Regions from separate parts of the Homo sapiens genome. Here regions 2, 3, 4 and 5 are each linked to region 1. The links are contacts of gene promoters, found by promoter capture Hi-C in blood cells and fetal thymus (Javierre and others, 2016). All regions are on one chromosome and are shown on one strand. Each heading gives the region's core, a stretch centred on a gene start or on the middle of the fragment in contact. The rest is flanking DNA. Distances are from core to core; before and after follow the strand shown. Region 1 holds the start of LINC02482 (long intergenic non-protein coding RNA 2482). Region 2 overlaps KIAA0232. Region 3 overlaps LOC105374365 (a long non-coding RNA gene). Region 4 has its middle 12 kb from the start of KIAA0232. Region 5 overlaps MAN2B2 (mannosidase alpha class 2B member 2).

Region 1 (2,744 bases), core at 245-2,744:
CTTGTGTTTTTTTTGGTAGGGTTTTTTCCCTTGTTGCCCAGGCTGGTATGGAACTCCTGAGCTCAAGCGATCCTCTCACCTCAGCCTCCCAAAGTGCTGGGATTATAGGCGTGAGCCACACGCCCGGCCTGGGTGTTTATGATTTAGAATGTTGGTGAGAGGTGACAGTGTGCTGGCAGTCCTCACAGCCCTCGCTCACTCTCGGTGCCTCCTCTGCCTGGGCTCCCACTTTGGCAGCACTTGAGGAGCCCTTCAGCCCACTGCTGCACTGTGGAGGCCCCTTTCTGGGCTGGCCAAGGCCAGAGCCGGCTCTCTCAGCTTGCAGGGAGGTGTGGAGGGAGAGGCGCGAGCGGGCACCGGGGCTGCACACGGCGCTTGCGGGCCAGCTGGAGTTCAGGGTGGGCGTGGGCTTGGTGGGCCCCGCACTCGGAGCAGCCGGCTGGCCCTGCCAGCCCCCGGCAATGAGGGGCTTAGCACCCGGGCCAGCGGCTGCGGAGGGTGTACTGGGTCCCTCAGCAGTGCCAGCCCACCGGCGCTGTGCTCGATTTCTCACCGGGCCTTAGCTGCCTTTCCGAGGGGCAGGGCTCGGGACCTGCAGCCCGCCATGCCTGAGCCTCCCACCCCCTCCATGGGCTCCTGTGCTGCCCGAGCCTCCTCGACGAGCACCACCCCCTGCTCCACGGCGCCCAGTCCCATCACCACCCAAGGGCTGAGGAGTGTGGGCGCACGGTGCCGTTCTCGCAGGCAGCTCCACCTGCAGCCCTGGTGTGGGATCCACTTGGTGAAGCCAGCTGGGCTCCTGAGTCTGGTGGGGATGTGGAGAACCTTTATGTCTAGCTCAGGGATTGTAAATACACCAATCAGCACCGTGTGTCTAGCTCAGGGTTTGTGAATATACCAATCGACTCTGCTGGGGCCTTGGAGAACCTTTGTGTCTAGCTCAGGGATTGTAAACGCACCAATCAGCACCCTGTCAAAACAGACCACTCGGCTCTACCAATCAGCAGGATGTGGGTGGGGCCAGATAAGACAATAAAAGCAGGCTGCCGGAGCCAGCAGTGGCAACCGGCTCAGGTCCCCTTCTATTGTGGAAGCTTTGTTCTTTCTCTCTTTGCAATAAATCCTGCTGCTGCTCACTCTTTGGGTCCACACTGCCTTTATGAGCCGTAACAGGTCTGCAGTTTCACTCCTGAGCCGGCGAGACCACGAACCCACCAGAAGGAAAAAACTCCGAACACATCCGAACATCAGAAGGAACAAACTCCAGACGCGCCACTTTAAGAGCTGTAACACTCACCGCGAGGGTCCGTGGCTTCATTCTTGAAGTCAGTGAGACCAAGAACCCACCAATTCCGGACACATTGGGAACTTAGAGCAGTGCTTGGGACATGGTTATCAGCGTCAGATATTTCCTTAAACTAGCGTGAAGTCGACTTTAACCTTCCAGCAGTGTGAGTGAGGGCCCTGACCCTAGAATCAACGCCCAAAGAGCTGTGGCGCTACAGCGGGCGGGGACATGGGGTGCGCATGCGTGCGGGGGGGTACGCGTGCGTGCAAGTGCGCGTGCGCGCGCAGGACCGCTGAGGCGGGAGCCCCGAATGCGGTTCTCGCTTGCTGCGTGGCGGTAAAGGACCGCAGGTGTCGTAAAAGGGCCGCAGTGGCAGCGTCCTGGCCGACGGCTAGTAGCCCATTTTGGATACCGTCCTCGCTGCGGAAAGTTGGGGCAACCTGTTGCTAGTCTGGTCGTTGGTGACAGCGAGGCTTCCGCGCTCGCTGCTGGTGAGCAGCCCCGGCGTGCCCCGCGGGCTGGAAGAGGCGGCGGCGTGATGCGGCCCGTGGACGCGGACGAGGCGCGGGAGCCCCGCGAGGAGCCGGGCAGCCCGCTGAGCCCCGCGCCCCGCGCCGGCCGCGAGAACCTGGCCTCCCTGGAGCGCGAGCGCGCCCGGGCGCACTGGCGGGCCCGCAGGAAGCTGCTGGAGATCCAGAGCCTGCTCGACGCCATCAAGAGTGAGGTGGAGGCAGAGGAGCGGGGCGCCCGGGCCCCAGCACCCCGCCCGCGTGCGGAGGCTGAGGAGCGGGTGGCTCGGCTGTGCGCCGAAGCAGAGAGGAAGGCTGCGGAGGCGGCGCGGATGGGCAGGCGGATCGTGGAGCTGCACCAGCGGATCGCCGGCTGCGAGTGCTGCTGAGCCGGCGAGGCCGCGCGGGTCTGGAGCGGAGCGCGGCGGGGAGTGTCCCGCGTGGAAGGCGCTGGGTAGGCAGGGAGGGGAGCGCAGAGCCGTGCCACGCTCTCCGCGGAGTTGGTTTCATTCTTTTTTCATAGGTAATTAGAGAAAATAATTTGATATGTTGTTGTAAAGAGTCATGACCACTGGAAGTATTTTCAGGACGTAGACCTGGTGGGTCACTACGTGGGGGGAGAGAGGTGTGAAGCGGAGGTACATGCTGGAAACGTGTGAATGTTGTTACGAGATTGGAGCGTTTGCGATGACCTTCCTGCAGGTGGAAGCATTGTGCACAGGTGGTTGGGTTTGTTTGACTCCCGGATATGAGAATATCAAGCTCAAAATTTATGTTGTGATGATGAATTTCTCCCACTTGTACTTTAGGTGGCCAACTGACGAACTGTGTTCACCTGATAAGGAGTCGTGGCTGCTTGGACAGGCTCAAACCAAGAGAGCCTTTCGTTTTGTCTCCCCTGTTTTTCTGCCTGCGTTTTCTCCACATTAGCCACTCAATTTCCAGTA
Region 2 (2,744 bases), core at 178-2,677, 120 kb after region 1:
AAAAGATGGGGTGTTGCATCGTATGTGGTGGACAGGGAAAGCCTCTGTTGACACTTGAGCAGAGACCTGAAGAGGAAGAGAGAAAGATGTGGAGATACCTGAGGAGCAGAGCATTTCGAGGGGTAGAGGAGAGCAAGTGAAAGGCCTTGGTTCTGCATCCATGATGAAGGTACACCTAAGAGGGTTTGCTGATGGACGAGATGTGGGATGTGCGAGGAGGAGCCATCATAGCGTGGGGTTGCCCTTGACTGACATGGGGAAGGTCATGGCAAGGGTAATGGTGGTGAGAATTCAGGGTTGTGTTGTTTGGCTTTAGACATGTTATAAGTTTGAGATGCCAGTCAGATATCTCCTTGTCTAGTAGCTTGGTAGCATTAGAGTTCTGGAATTAAAGAGAAAGAAGCAGGGTAGAGGGAAAGGATGGAGCAGTCTCTGCATAGGTGGTATTTATAATCATGGGACTAGAAGAGGTAAGCCAGATTGCGCAGTTAAATAAGGCAGCCACAAGCCACATGTTTTGTTTTGTTTTGTTTTTGAGATGGAGTCTCACTCTGTCGCCCAGGCTGGAGTGCAATTGCATGATCTCGGCTTACTGCAAGCTCCGCCTTCCGGGTTCATGCCATTCTCTTGCCTCAGCCTCCTGAGCAGCTAGGACTACAGGCACCCACCACCACGCCTAGCTAATTTTTTTGTATTTTTTAGTAGAGACAGGGTTTCATCGTGCTAGCCAGGATGATCTCGATCTCCTGACCTTGTGATCCGCCTGCTTCAGCCTCCCAAAGTACTGGGATCACAGGCGTGAGCCACCGCGCCCGGCCCACATGTGGCTTTTGAACTTTGCATGCAGCTAATCTGAATTGAGATGCGCTGTGTCAATTATGTACCAGATGCCAAAGACAGTGTGAAAAATTACAATGTAACATATATCATTAATTTTTACCTTCATTATATTTGGAGTGATATTATTTTGGATATACTGGGTTAAATCAAACATATTAAAGTTAATTTCACCTGTTTCTTTTTTAATATGGCTACTAGAAATATATTTATTTATTTTTTGAGCTAGGACATCACTGTCACCTAGGCTGGAGTGCGGTGGTACATTCACAGCTTCTTGCAGCCTTGGTCTCCCAGGCTCAAGTAGTCCTCCCATTTCAGCCTCCTGAGTAGCTGGGACTATAGGCATGCGCCACTGCATCCAGCTAATTTACTTTTTTTGTAGAGACTGGGTCTCACTATGTTGCCCAGGCTGAGCTCAAACTCCTGCTCTCATGCAGTCCGCTTGCCTTGGCCTCCGCAAGTGCTGGGGTTACAGGAATGAACCACTGCACTTGGCCTAGAAAATTTTAATTACATATATGACTGGCATTATTTTGCTCTTGAAGGCACTGGTGGAGGAAGCGAATGGAAATAGAGAAGTCCAAGGGCAGAGCCTGGAAAGCTGGGAAGAGGAGGAGCAGCCAGCGGAGGAGCCAGCGAGGGTGTGGACTGGGTGAGGAGAGGATGATGAGAGGTGTGGTTTGTGCGTAAGTGAGCTGCACTAAAATTTGATTAGAACTTGAGTAAAAGGAAAGTATCAGAAACTAGGTCTAATTAATATGTAATATGTGGAATTGGTTATTCGTAGAAGTGAACGAGTCCTGGAGATGGTCTGTAGGATCAGGATAGGATTGAGATCCTTCCCTATATTGTTCTTTTTTTTTTTGGAGACAGAGTCTTGTTCTGTCACCCAGGTTGGAGTGCAGTGGCACGATCTCAGCTCACTGCAGCCTCTGCCTCCTGGGTTCAAGCGATTCTTATGTCTCAGCCTCCCAAGTCACTGGGACTACAGGTGTGTGCCACCACCCCTGGCTAATTTTTGTATTTTTAATAGAGACAGCATTTTGCCATGTTGACCAGGCTGGCCTCAAACTCCTGACCTCAGGTGATCTGCCTGCCTTGGCCTCCCAAAGTGCTGGGATTGCAGGCGTGAGCCACCACACCCGACCATATTGTTCTTTTTTAAGTGAGTTTCATGCCACCTGTTTAAAGAAAGCTCTAACATAGCCTATCTGAGGAATCAATCATGATAGTAGAAAAGGAAGCACACATTTATAAGATTTGACACAGTTAGTGCAAGAAGGTGACTCTTATGGCCCTTAAAAGTTTGGTCACACGGTTTTCTTTCAGCTTGTAATCTTCACTTAGTAAAACTACCATAAGAATATCTTACCTTCCTTTTGCTCTTTCTGAGCTCGTAGGGTGTCTTTGAGAATGTTCAAGTAGGCTCCTTGAGTGGCCTTAGCTACCGTGATGGGAGGGCTTCGTTTCCATTCTTGGTTTTCTGGTTTATATGTTGGTCACTTGGTTATGTTAGTCAGCATCCTTTGGCACTGCCTTCTGTCCTGATCATCTCATAGGAACAGACTTTGGGACATTTACTGACAACAGTCAGTTGGAGAGCCTTCCTCATGCAGCACGTCGACTTCTTTTTAATATGTTGGTAGCTATAACAGTGTAGTATCAGGCAGATTGTTTTTTCTTTAGACATTATACTTTTTTCCTCTGTATTTTATTATTTCATTTCCCAAAAAACACACTTGCACATTTAAGAGCAGTGTTTTAACAGTTTTTTCCAAAGCCATGAGATAGAAACTGTCATGGAAACTGAAGCTCCTCTGACTGGAACTTACTTAGGCCTTGCCAGGGTGGGCAAAAGATGACGTTGAAAAAGATCAGGTAGCACCCTGCATTTTGCCATTGGC
Region 3 (2,744 bases), core at 184-2,683, 100 kb before region 1:
CTTCACCAGGTAGCTCAGGGATGGGGCTGTCCACCATAGGCCAGGGTGGGTGGTGGGAGGTGCCGTTACAGAACCAGGTTTGCTGAGAGAGCTGGGAATAAGAGGATCCAGAAATAAGGGGCTAGGAGCCTGCACCAAACCACTGGAAGCAAGGTCAGTGCAATCACTTTAACAAGCACCAAGGCTGGAACACAGTGAGGTCCACGGCGAGCCATGGAGATGCTTGATAGAAAACGGCACCTGGCCGGGTGTGGTGGCTCATGCCTATAATCCTAGCACTTTGAAAGTCTGAGGCAGGTAGATCACCTGAGGTCAGGAGTTCAAGACCAACCTGGCCGACATGGTGAAACCCCATCTCTACTTAAAAAAAAAAAAAAATTAGCCAGGCCGTGGTGGCTGGCTCCTGTAATCCCAGCTACTCGGGAGGCTGAGGCAGGAGAATTGCTTGAACACAGGAGGTGGAGGTTGCAGTGAGCCATGATCATGCCATTGCACTCCAGCCTGGGCAACAAGAGTAAAACTCCAAAAAAAAGAAAGAAGAAAGAGAGAAAGAGAGGAAAGAAAGAAAGAAAGAAAGAGAGAGAGAGAGAGAGAGAGAGAAAGAAAGAAAGAAAGAAAGAAAGAAAGAAAGGAAGAGAGAGAGAGAGAAAGAAAGAAAGAAAGAGAGAGAGAAAGAAAGAAAAGAAAAGAAGGAAGGAAGGAAAGAAGGAAGGAAGGAAGAAAGAAAAAGAAAGGAGGGAGGGAGGGAGGGAAGGAAGGAAGGAAGGAGATGGAAGGAAGGAGAAGGAAGAAAGGAAGGAGAAAGATAGAAAGAAAGAAAGCGAAAGAAAGGAAGGAAGGAGATGGAGGAAGGAAGGGAGGAAGAAAAGAGAGAGAGGAAGGAAGGAGAAAGAGAGACGAAAGAAAGGGAGGGAGGGAAGGGAAGGGAAGGAAGGAAGGAATGAGATGGAAGGAAGGAAAGAGAGAAAGGAAGGAAGGAGAAAGGAGAGAAAGAAAGAAAAAGAAGGAAAGAAAGAAAGAAAGAAAGAAAGAAAGAAAGAAAGAAAGAAAGAAAAAGAAAGAAAGAAGGAAGGAAAGAAAGAAAGAAAGAGGCAAGATAGATGGATGGCTGACACAGGTGAGACTTGGCCCATCCTCTCTGGACAAATCAAGGCAGATGGGGTTAGGAAGTTGAGGGTAGCCACCCAAAGATAAATCCTGATCCCTTGCCCAGTGTCCAGACCTGAGCCAGTTTTCAAGTCCAGATCCCATCCACTGAAAGGAAAAGCGTGTTTCCAGGAAGAAGGACTCTGCAACATCGTAACAAAGGCCTATGGGAATCCCCTACTCCTTCCCCAACAGGACTGATGCTCATTGACTCAGGTAACCAGACACTAGGGAAAAATACCCAAATATTTCAAGAAATGTGGCTGAAAGCAGCAATAGACGTTTATGATCATCCCGGTGTCTGCAGGTGAAGAATCCAGGGTGGCTTCGCTGTGTGTTGTGCCTTGTGGGCCTCCCTGAGGTTGCAGTCAGGATGTCCTCTGGAATGGCTGGGCCTGGGCTGGAGGGCCTGCTTCCAAGGCACTCACACCCGGGCTGGCAAGACAGTGCCGGCTGTTGGTGGGAGGCCTCTGTTCCTCTGTAGATGGGCCTCTCCACAGATGGCTTGAGAGTCCTCATGACATGGTGGCCGGCTTGCTCCAGTATTAGAGCCCCAAGCGAGGGTGTAACATCACATCAGGCCAAGGGCTCCACTTCACAGCAAAAGAGGTGCAACCGCAGGCACACCCATGGTGTCTAGTGGTCCTATTATGTGCTGTACAACCCAGAGGCTGCTGGCTGATGGGGAAATGGAGTGGCCAGTTGAAGGCTCAGCCACAGCACCAGCTTGGAGGTGCCACCTGTGAAGCAAGGGCACCATCCTCCAGGGTGTATGTACATCCCAAGTCAATGACCAGTACACGATGTCCCCAGTGGGTAAAATACCTGGGCCTAAGAACCAAAGAATGGAAGCAGGAATAGCCTAATTTAGCATCACTCTCAGTGACCTACTTGGAGAATATGTGCTTCCTGTCCACACAACTACAGATTCTGTAGGTTCAGAGGTTCTGGTTTCCAAAGGGGAATGCTTCCACCAAGCGACACCAGTCACGCCAGGCTACTCATGTCAAGACACCAGTAGGCAGGGGAAGAGTCACCCATCGAGCAGGGGCAGTTGACCTGAACCATCAGAGGAGGTAGGGTTGCTGTCACACAATGGAAGCAGAGAAGACTGTGTGCCACCCACATGGGTGTCCCTCAGGACTCTTTCACCTGATGTAGTCAGCAAATAGGCAAGTGAGCAGCTATGGCTCAAGAAGGGAATGGTCACCAGGGGCTCATCCTCGTTGGTGAGGATCTGGGGCAACCCACCAGGTAAGCTATCTAGTCCAGCATGGGTCTAGCTGAGGGTGAAAGGGATCTGAATGAATAATCCAGGAGGGGGTTGTGAGTATCACCTTCAAGCCTGAGACTAGCTGCAGCAAGAGCTCACGCAAGAGCCTTGAGGAAAGTACAAATGAAACCCTACACAGCTGTGATACAGTGGGCAGGAGAGAAAATGACATGAGGTCTCACATGTTGTTGTAGTCAGATGGGGGGCTGGAGCTGAAACAGCATGGTGATCTTGAGCTGCTCCCTGTGGTCTGCCCCATGTGGGCTGGTTGGGCTTCCTCACAGCATGGTGGCCTCAGGGTAGTTGGACTGCTGACAGGGCAACT
Region 4 (2,744 bases), core at 175-2,674, 97 kb after region 1:
GCTGCGGTTGTGGGGATGCCCCTTCTGAGCAGCTGCTGCCTCTGTGTGCTCCCCTTCCTCTCCCCACCCCCACTCTCTTCCCAGGTCTCCCTCTGCTTACTACCCAGCATGGGCAAAAGCAGCTGCACCCAGTATGGACCAATAGGGGCACACCCATTTCGAGGCACTAAATGTGGTGCTGATAACAGAGTCCCCAGGCCTGGCTTGGCCCAAGGATGGAGCACCCCAACACCCCAGCTGTCTCAGGGGCCCACTGCTCAGCCTGGCTCACTCCCCGAGGGTGGGTGGTTTCTAAGTGCAGCTGGTGGGCTTGTGTGTGATGGTGGACGGATCCTGGAGTTTAGCAGGGTGACTGTGGCCAAGCTGTTTCTCTCTGGGTCTGTTCCTTAGTGTTATTGATGTTGTTGACAGCTGACCGGTCCTGCACCGTACTAATCATTTTACATGGAGAAGCTCCATGTAAAGCTTCTAGGTTGTAATTCTCATCACAACCCCGTGAGGTAGTTCATATTATCACCTCCATTTTACAGATAAGGAAACTGAGGACCAGAGAGCTCAAACTGATGTGCCTTAGGTCACACAGCTAGTGATCAATTGAGCCAGGCCTTGAACCCAGACAGTCTGGCTCCAGGACAAGCCCGCACAATATCTATACAGAAACAGGGCCTGGTGCATTTTAGGGCTGCTGTGATTTTGTCCTTATCTGCAGGTGCTTTTACCTCTGATTTCATTCGCCCTATGACCTGTATGGTAGGTTTTATTACCTCGGTTTTATCACACTTTCATCCTCCTCCAGGGTAGAATCAGCTTACAGATGAGGTAACAGGCTCAGAGGGGTTAAGCAACTTCTCAGGTGTCCCACAGCTGGTACGTGTGACAACTCGAATTCAAAGAAGTCTCCTGACTCTCACTGCGGAGCCTCCCATTCAAGAGGGACCTCAAGGTGTCACAGAATTTAGACATACTGAACGTCCTTACTTTATGAGTCCAGATTCAAATCAGTAATAACGCAATGTCAGAGGAGTTGAAGAATTCTTTCATGTATTTGTCCATCCTTGTTCCACACCTTGTCCTAGGATCCTTGGGGTTGCAGTGGTGGGGATGGAACCATAGAGATGCACAAGCCATAGATTTAGGAACTGGAATTTCAGCAATGCTTTCGGGTCTTCTGACAAGGTGCAGGCAGGCCACCTTTCTTGTATGGCAGGGCAGGACAGGGCTGGCCTGTGTTCCAGTTCTGGCTGTGTCACTCCCATGCTGTGTGACTTAGGACAAGGCTCTGCTCTTTCTGTACATTGGGTCACCAAGCAGGGATGAGCTGCCTGGTGTGGTGACTCCAGGTGGCTCCAGGAGGAAGGCAGGGGCCCTCTCATGTGAGTAGCCACATTCCTCCCTATGGCTTGTCCACAAAATAAGGGGACCTCACGGAGACAGCTCTGTGCACCTGTCATGCTGTATCGTTGGAGGGATTGGAGCAAGGCTGCAGCTTCCTTGGGGTTGGATCATCACAGGGGCCATAGTCATGAAGCCGATTGGCTGTGAACTTGGGCTGTGGGGTCCAAAGACCCAGGGTTAACTCCTGGCTCTGCCACCAGCCAGCTGTGTGACCTTAGCCAAGTTACTTAGCCTCTCTGAGCCTCAATTGCCTCATTCATAAAGTGGGGAACCTAGCACAGTGCCGAGCAGCTGCTCATTTACTGCAGGCACAGTCACTGAAGCTGAGAATTATGAAGCTGATGAGGATAGAGGGTCCAGCATAGAAAGTGCCACCTACAAGCACCTACTATGTGCCAAGACAAGGAGACAAGAAGGTGACGTGATTTACTTCTGGGCATACAGCAAGAACATGGCAAAGCTGGACCTGAGCATTGGGATGCATCAGCGCCTGCGGTGCCTGGTGGCTCTGAGCCTGTAGCAAGCTCCCTGGCTGAGGTCTGGGGCTGTGCCCTAGAGGAGGAGCCCCTACGGCCACTCCTGCTGGCCTGTGGCTGGGGCAGCATCAGCAGATGTCTTCAGTCCATCTGGCAGGTCTCACTTGCTTGGTCTGAGAACCTGCCCCACAGGCCTGAGCTCTGCAGGGAAAAGAAATAAAAATAGCCAGGTCTGAGAGGGCAGTGGCTGGGCCGTGGGCAGCAATGCGTGCCTTTCCCATGACTCCTGCTCTGCAGAGGAGAGTCCTTCCCTGAGCCGTCCTGTGTGCCAGGCCCTGGGCTGGGTGCCCGGGAAGCGAAGTTGTGGCAGGCAAAGCTGCTCCCCAGAGGAGCCCATAGCTTGGTGGGTAGAACATATTTGTCCAGTGCGGCACCTTGGGGTGGGGGCCCGAAAGGGCTAGCAGTGGAGCATTGCAAGAGAGACCCCCTCACCCACCTGGGGGAACACAAGGTAAGCTTCCAGAAAGAGGACACACTGGAGAAAACAGTTGTTAAGCAGAGTGGCGGGGGGCTTTCCAGGCAGTGGGACCAGCATTTGCAAAGGCAGAGAGGTGTGACAAGCATGTCCCATTGAGAGAAGTGTAAGTACCTGGGTACATCTGGAGGCTGGGGTGTCTATAGGGACAGGATGGAGGGTTGCGCTAGGAAAGCAGGGAGCCTGGGACTGTGGGGACGATGGGGAGCCAAGGGAGGTTATAAAGCAGGGGGTCACGATCTCTCCTTCTCAAGATCCATAGCCTTAATCCCATCAGCAAAGTCCCTTTTGCCAGGTAAGGTAACATAGTCGCTGGTTCCAGGGATTAGGAGGTACAC
Region 5 (2,744 bases), core at 78-2,577, 85 kb before region 1:
CCTCAGCCTCCCAAAGTGCTGGTATTACAGGCGGGAGCCACTGGTGCCCAGCTTCATCCTGCATTTCTTTTAACCCTCACAGCAACCTTATGGGACGGTGTCATCATTTGCTAGGGCTGCCATAACAAAGGACCACAGACTGGTGACTCAAGCAATAGAAACATATTGTCCCATGGTTCTGGAGGCTGGAAGTCCAGGGTCAAGGTGTCAGCAGGGCCACGCTCCCTCTGAAGGTGTGAGGGAAGGGGCTGCTCCAGGCCTCTCTCCTTGGCTTGTGGATGCCCCGCTTCTTTCAGTGCCCCCGTATCATCTTCCCTGGGTGCATGTTTGTGTCTCAATTTTCCTTTTTTCTGAGGACACCCATCCTATTGTATTAGGGCCCACCCTAATGACCTCATTTTAACTTGATTACTTCTGTAAAGACCCCATTTCCAGTGGGCACAGTGGCTCACGCCTGTAATCCCAGCCCTTTGGGAGGTGGGCAGATCACATGAAGTCAAGAGTTCGAAACCAGCCTGGCCAACATGGCAAAACCCCGTCTCTACTAAAAATACAAAAATTAGCCGGGCGTGGTAGCAAGTGGCTGAAATCCCAGCTACTCAGGAGGCTGAGGCAGGACAATCGCTTGAACCAGGGAGGTGAAGGTTTCAGTGAGCTGAGATCGTGACACTGCACTCCTGGGTGACAGAGTGAGACTCTGTAAAAAATAAAAAATAAAAAAATAAACTGCACACTTGGTGAGAAGTAATGAGCTTCCTGCACCTGGGGGCATTCAAGCAGAGTTAGAAGGTGCTAATTCTACAGGGTTTGGCAGAGAAAAGCCTGCATCGAGGAGTGGGTGGGGTGAATGAGCACTCCTTCCGGAGGGCAAATCCCACAACCAGTCTTAGACGGAAACGGCAGGGGAGAGCTCATCCTTGAACCACTGAGGGAGGGCCAAGGTGAGGGCAGGCGGGAGACACCCAGATGGGGCTGAGGGAAGTGGAGCTGGGGCAGCCATGTGGCCCCTCCAGCCTCATTCTTCTCCTCGGTTTGCAGGGGCTGCAGTTCGTGTGGCGAGGGTCCCCATCCCTCTCAGAGCGGCAGGAAATCTTCACGCACATCATGGACCAGTACAGCTACTGCACCCCGTCCCACATCCCTTTCTCCAACAGGTACGTGCCCTTCCGCAGTGCCTTTGGGATCTCAGACAGCAGGGTCTGCCCAGCCCCTGCAGCTGTTCTGCAGTTTTGTTTTTGTTTATTGGTTTTAAGACAAGAGCTTCTGCTCTGTTGCCCAGGCCGGAGTGCAGTAGCGCAATCTTGGCTCACTGCAACCTCCGCCTCCTGGGTTCAAGCGATTCTTCTGCCTTAGCCTCCTGAGTAGCTAGGATTATAGGCACCCACCACCACACCCAGCTAATTTTTGTCTTTTTAGTAGAGAGGGAGTTTCACCATGTTATCTAGGCTGGTCTCAAACTCCTGACCTGAGATGATCCACCTGCCTTGGCCTCCCAAAGTGCTAGGATTATAGGCATGAGCCGCCGCGCCCAGCCCTATTCTGCAGTTTTTGACAAGAGCTCCTTAAGCACATGGTGTCCCATTCTTCAGCCTCCCCAGCAGAGTGGGTGGGGTTATCAACCCCATTTTACAGATGTGGAAACTGAGGTTCAGAGAGGGTAAGTGACCAGATCAGGGTCACCCAGCTGGTAAGTAGGGGAGGCAGGATTTGACTCCAGTTCTGTGTGACTCTGAATTGCTTCTTGTTATGAGTCCCTGTCCCAAAAGAGGATTGTTTAAAGGATGAGATCTTGGCTGGGTGCGGTGCCTCATGCCTGTAATCCCAGCACTTTGGGAGGCTGAGGCAGGACAATCACTTGAGTCCAGGAGTTCAAAACCAGCCTGGGCTTCCTAGTGAGAACCTATCTCTACAAAAACTTAAAAATTAGCTGGGTGCATGCAGTCCTAGATGCTTAGGAGGTTGAGGCAGAAGGGTCGCCTGAATCCAGGAGTTGGAGGCTACAGTGAGCTCTGATGGTACCACTGCACTCCAGCCTGGGCAACAGAGTGAGAACCTGTCTCTATTTAAAATAAAAAAAAAAATAGGCCGGGCACAGTAGCTCATGCCTGTAATCCCAGCGCTTTGGGAAGCCAAGGCAGGTGGATCACTTCAGGTCAGGAATTTGAGACCAGCCTGGCCAACATGGCAAAACCCCGTCTCTACTGAAAATACAAAAAAAGAAAAAAAAAATTAGCTGGGTGTTGTGGCGCATCCCTGTAATCCCAACTACTTGGGAGGCTGAGGCAGGAGAATCACTTGAACCCGGGAGGCACAGGTTGCAGTAAGCCAATATTGCACCACTTGCACTCCAGCCTGGGCCACAGAGCAAGACTCTGTCTCAATCAATCAATCAATCAATCAATGATGAGGTCTTTACATCAGTGTTCCCAAGAACCTCCTTCCTGGCCATGACAGGTCCCCTTCTGCTCTCGCCTCGCCTGTCCGTACCTGCCAGGTGAGGAAGTTGAATGTGCTGACTTCCAGGAGCCATCCATCGGCACCCCATCCCGTCCACGGTCCTCCAGGGCACTGTCCAGTGTCTCTCTAACACCCTCCAAGCTCACCTGCCCTCAACCCCAGTGATCTCCCTGCCTCTATCCCGCCTGGGCCTGGAGAGCAAGCTGGGTTCCAGGCTGCAGGTGCAGGGATAGGGGTGCTGTGGATGCAGGGGGAAGGCCCCCGGACATGGGTGTTTCCCCACCCGT

Evidence for each region. Contacts are between HindIII fragments. The CHiCAGO score rates a contact against its expected background, and 5 or more counts as called.
Region 2: a contact is called between a fragment that was not itself captured here and the fragment with the promoter of LINC02482 in region 1, in 8 of 17 cell types (naive CD4 T cells, total CD8 T cells, neutrophils and 5 more). The highest score is 9.2, in naive CD4 T cells.
Region 3: a fragment that was not itself captured here is called in contact with the fragment with the promoter of LINC02482 in region 1 in 1 of 17 cell types (neutrophils); the score reaches 6.4 in neutrophils.
Region 4: a fragment that was not itself captured here is called in contact with the fragment with the promoter of LINC02482 in region 1 in 5 of 17 cell types (naive CD4 T cells, naive CD8 T cells, neutrophils and 2 more); the score reaches 8.5 in naive CD4 T cells.
Region 5: a fragment that was not itself captured here is called in contact with the fragment with the promoter of LINC02482 in region 1 in 1 of 17 cell types (total B cells); the score reaches 5.1 in total B cells.

The regions. Positions count from the first base shown.
Region 1 is chr4:6,672,387-6,675,130 of GRCh38, forward strand. LINC02482 (long intergenic non-protein coding RNA 2482) reads right to left here and starts at 1,495. Exons shown (of 2, transcript NR_134665.1): 1 at 1,298-1,495. MRFAP1L2 (Morf4 family associated protein 1 like 2) reads left to right here and starts at 1,689. Exons shown (of 1, transcript NM_138699.3): 1 at 1,689-2,744. The coding sequence starts at 1,827. The coding sequence ends at 2,186. RefSeq lists an enhancer at 683-1,291 and a silencer at 1,764-1,993. The HindIII fragment of the contact is 2,330 bases long and covers 1,093-2,744 here.
Region 2 is chr4:6,794,554-6,797,297 of GRCh38, forward strand. All of the region lies in intron 1 of KIAA0232, which reads left to right. Among named protein-coding and RNA genes, the nearest start is that of KIAA0232, 13 kb to the left of the region's middle. The HindIII fragment of the contact is 5,038 bases long and covers 1-2,744 here.
Region 3 is chr4:6,569,117-6,571,860 of GRCh38, forward strand. It overlaps LOC105374365 (a long non-coding RNA gene), which reads left to right. Exons shown (of 3, transcript XR_925098.3): 1 at 1-9. Among named protein-coding and RNA genes, the nearest start is that of MAN2B2, 4.7 kb to the right of the region's middle. The HindIII fragment of the contact is 5,024 bases long and covers 1-2,744 here.
Region 4 is chr4:6,769,317-6,772,060 of GRCh38, forward strand. No RefSeq gene overlaps it. Among named protein-coding and RNA genes, the nearest start is that of KIAA0232, 12 kb to the right of the region's middle. The HindIII fragment of the contact is 1,922 bases long and covers 464-2,385 here.
Region 5 is chr4:6,588,007-6,590,750 of GRCh38, forward strand. MAN2B2 (mannosidase alpha class 2B member 2) reads left to right here. Exons shown (of 19, transcript NM_015274.3): 5 at 1,039-1,154. Among named protein-coding and RNA genes, the nearest start is that of MAN2B2, 14 kb to the left of the region's middle. The HindIII fragment of the contact is 9,387 bases long and covers 1-2,744 here.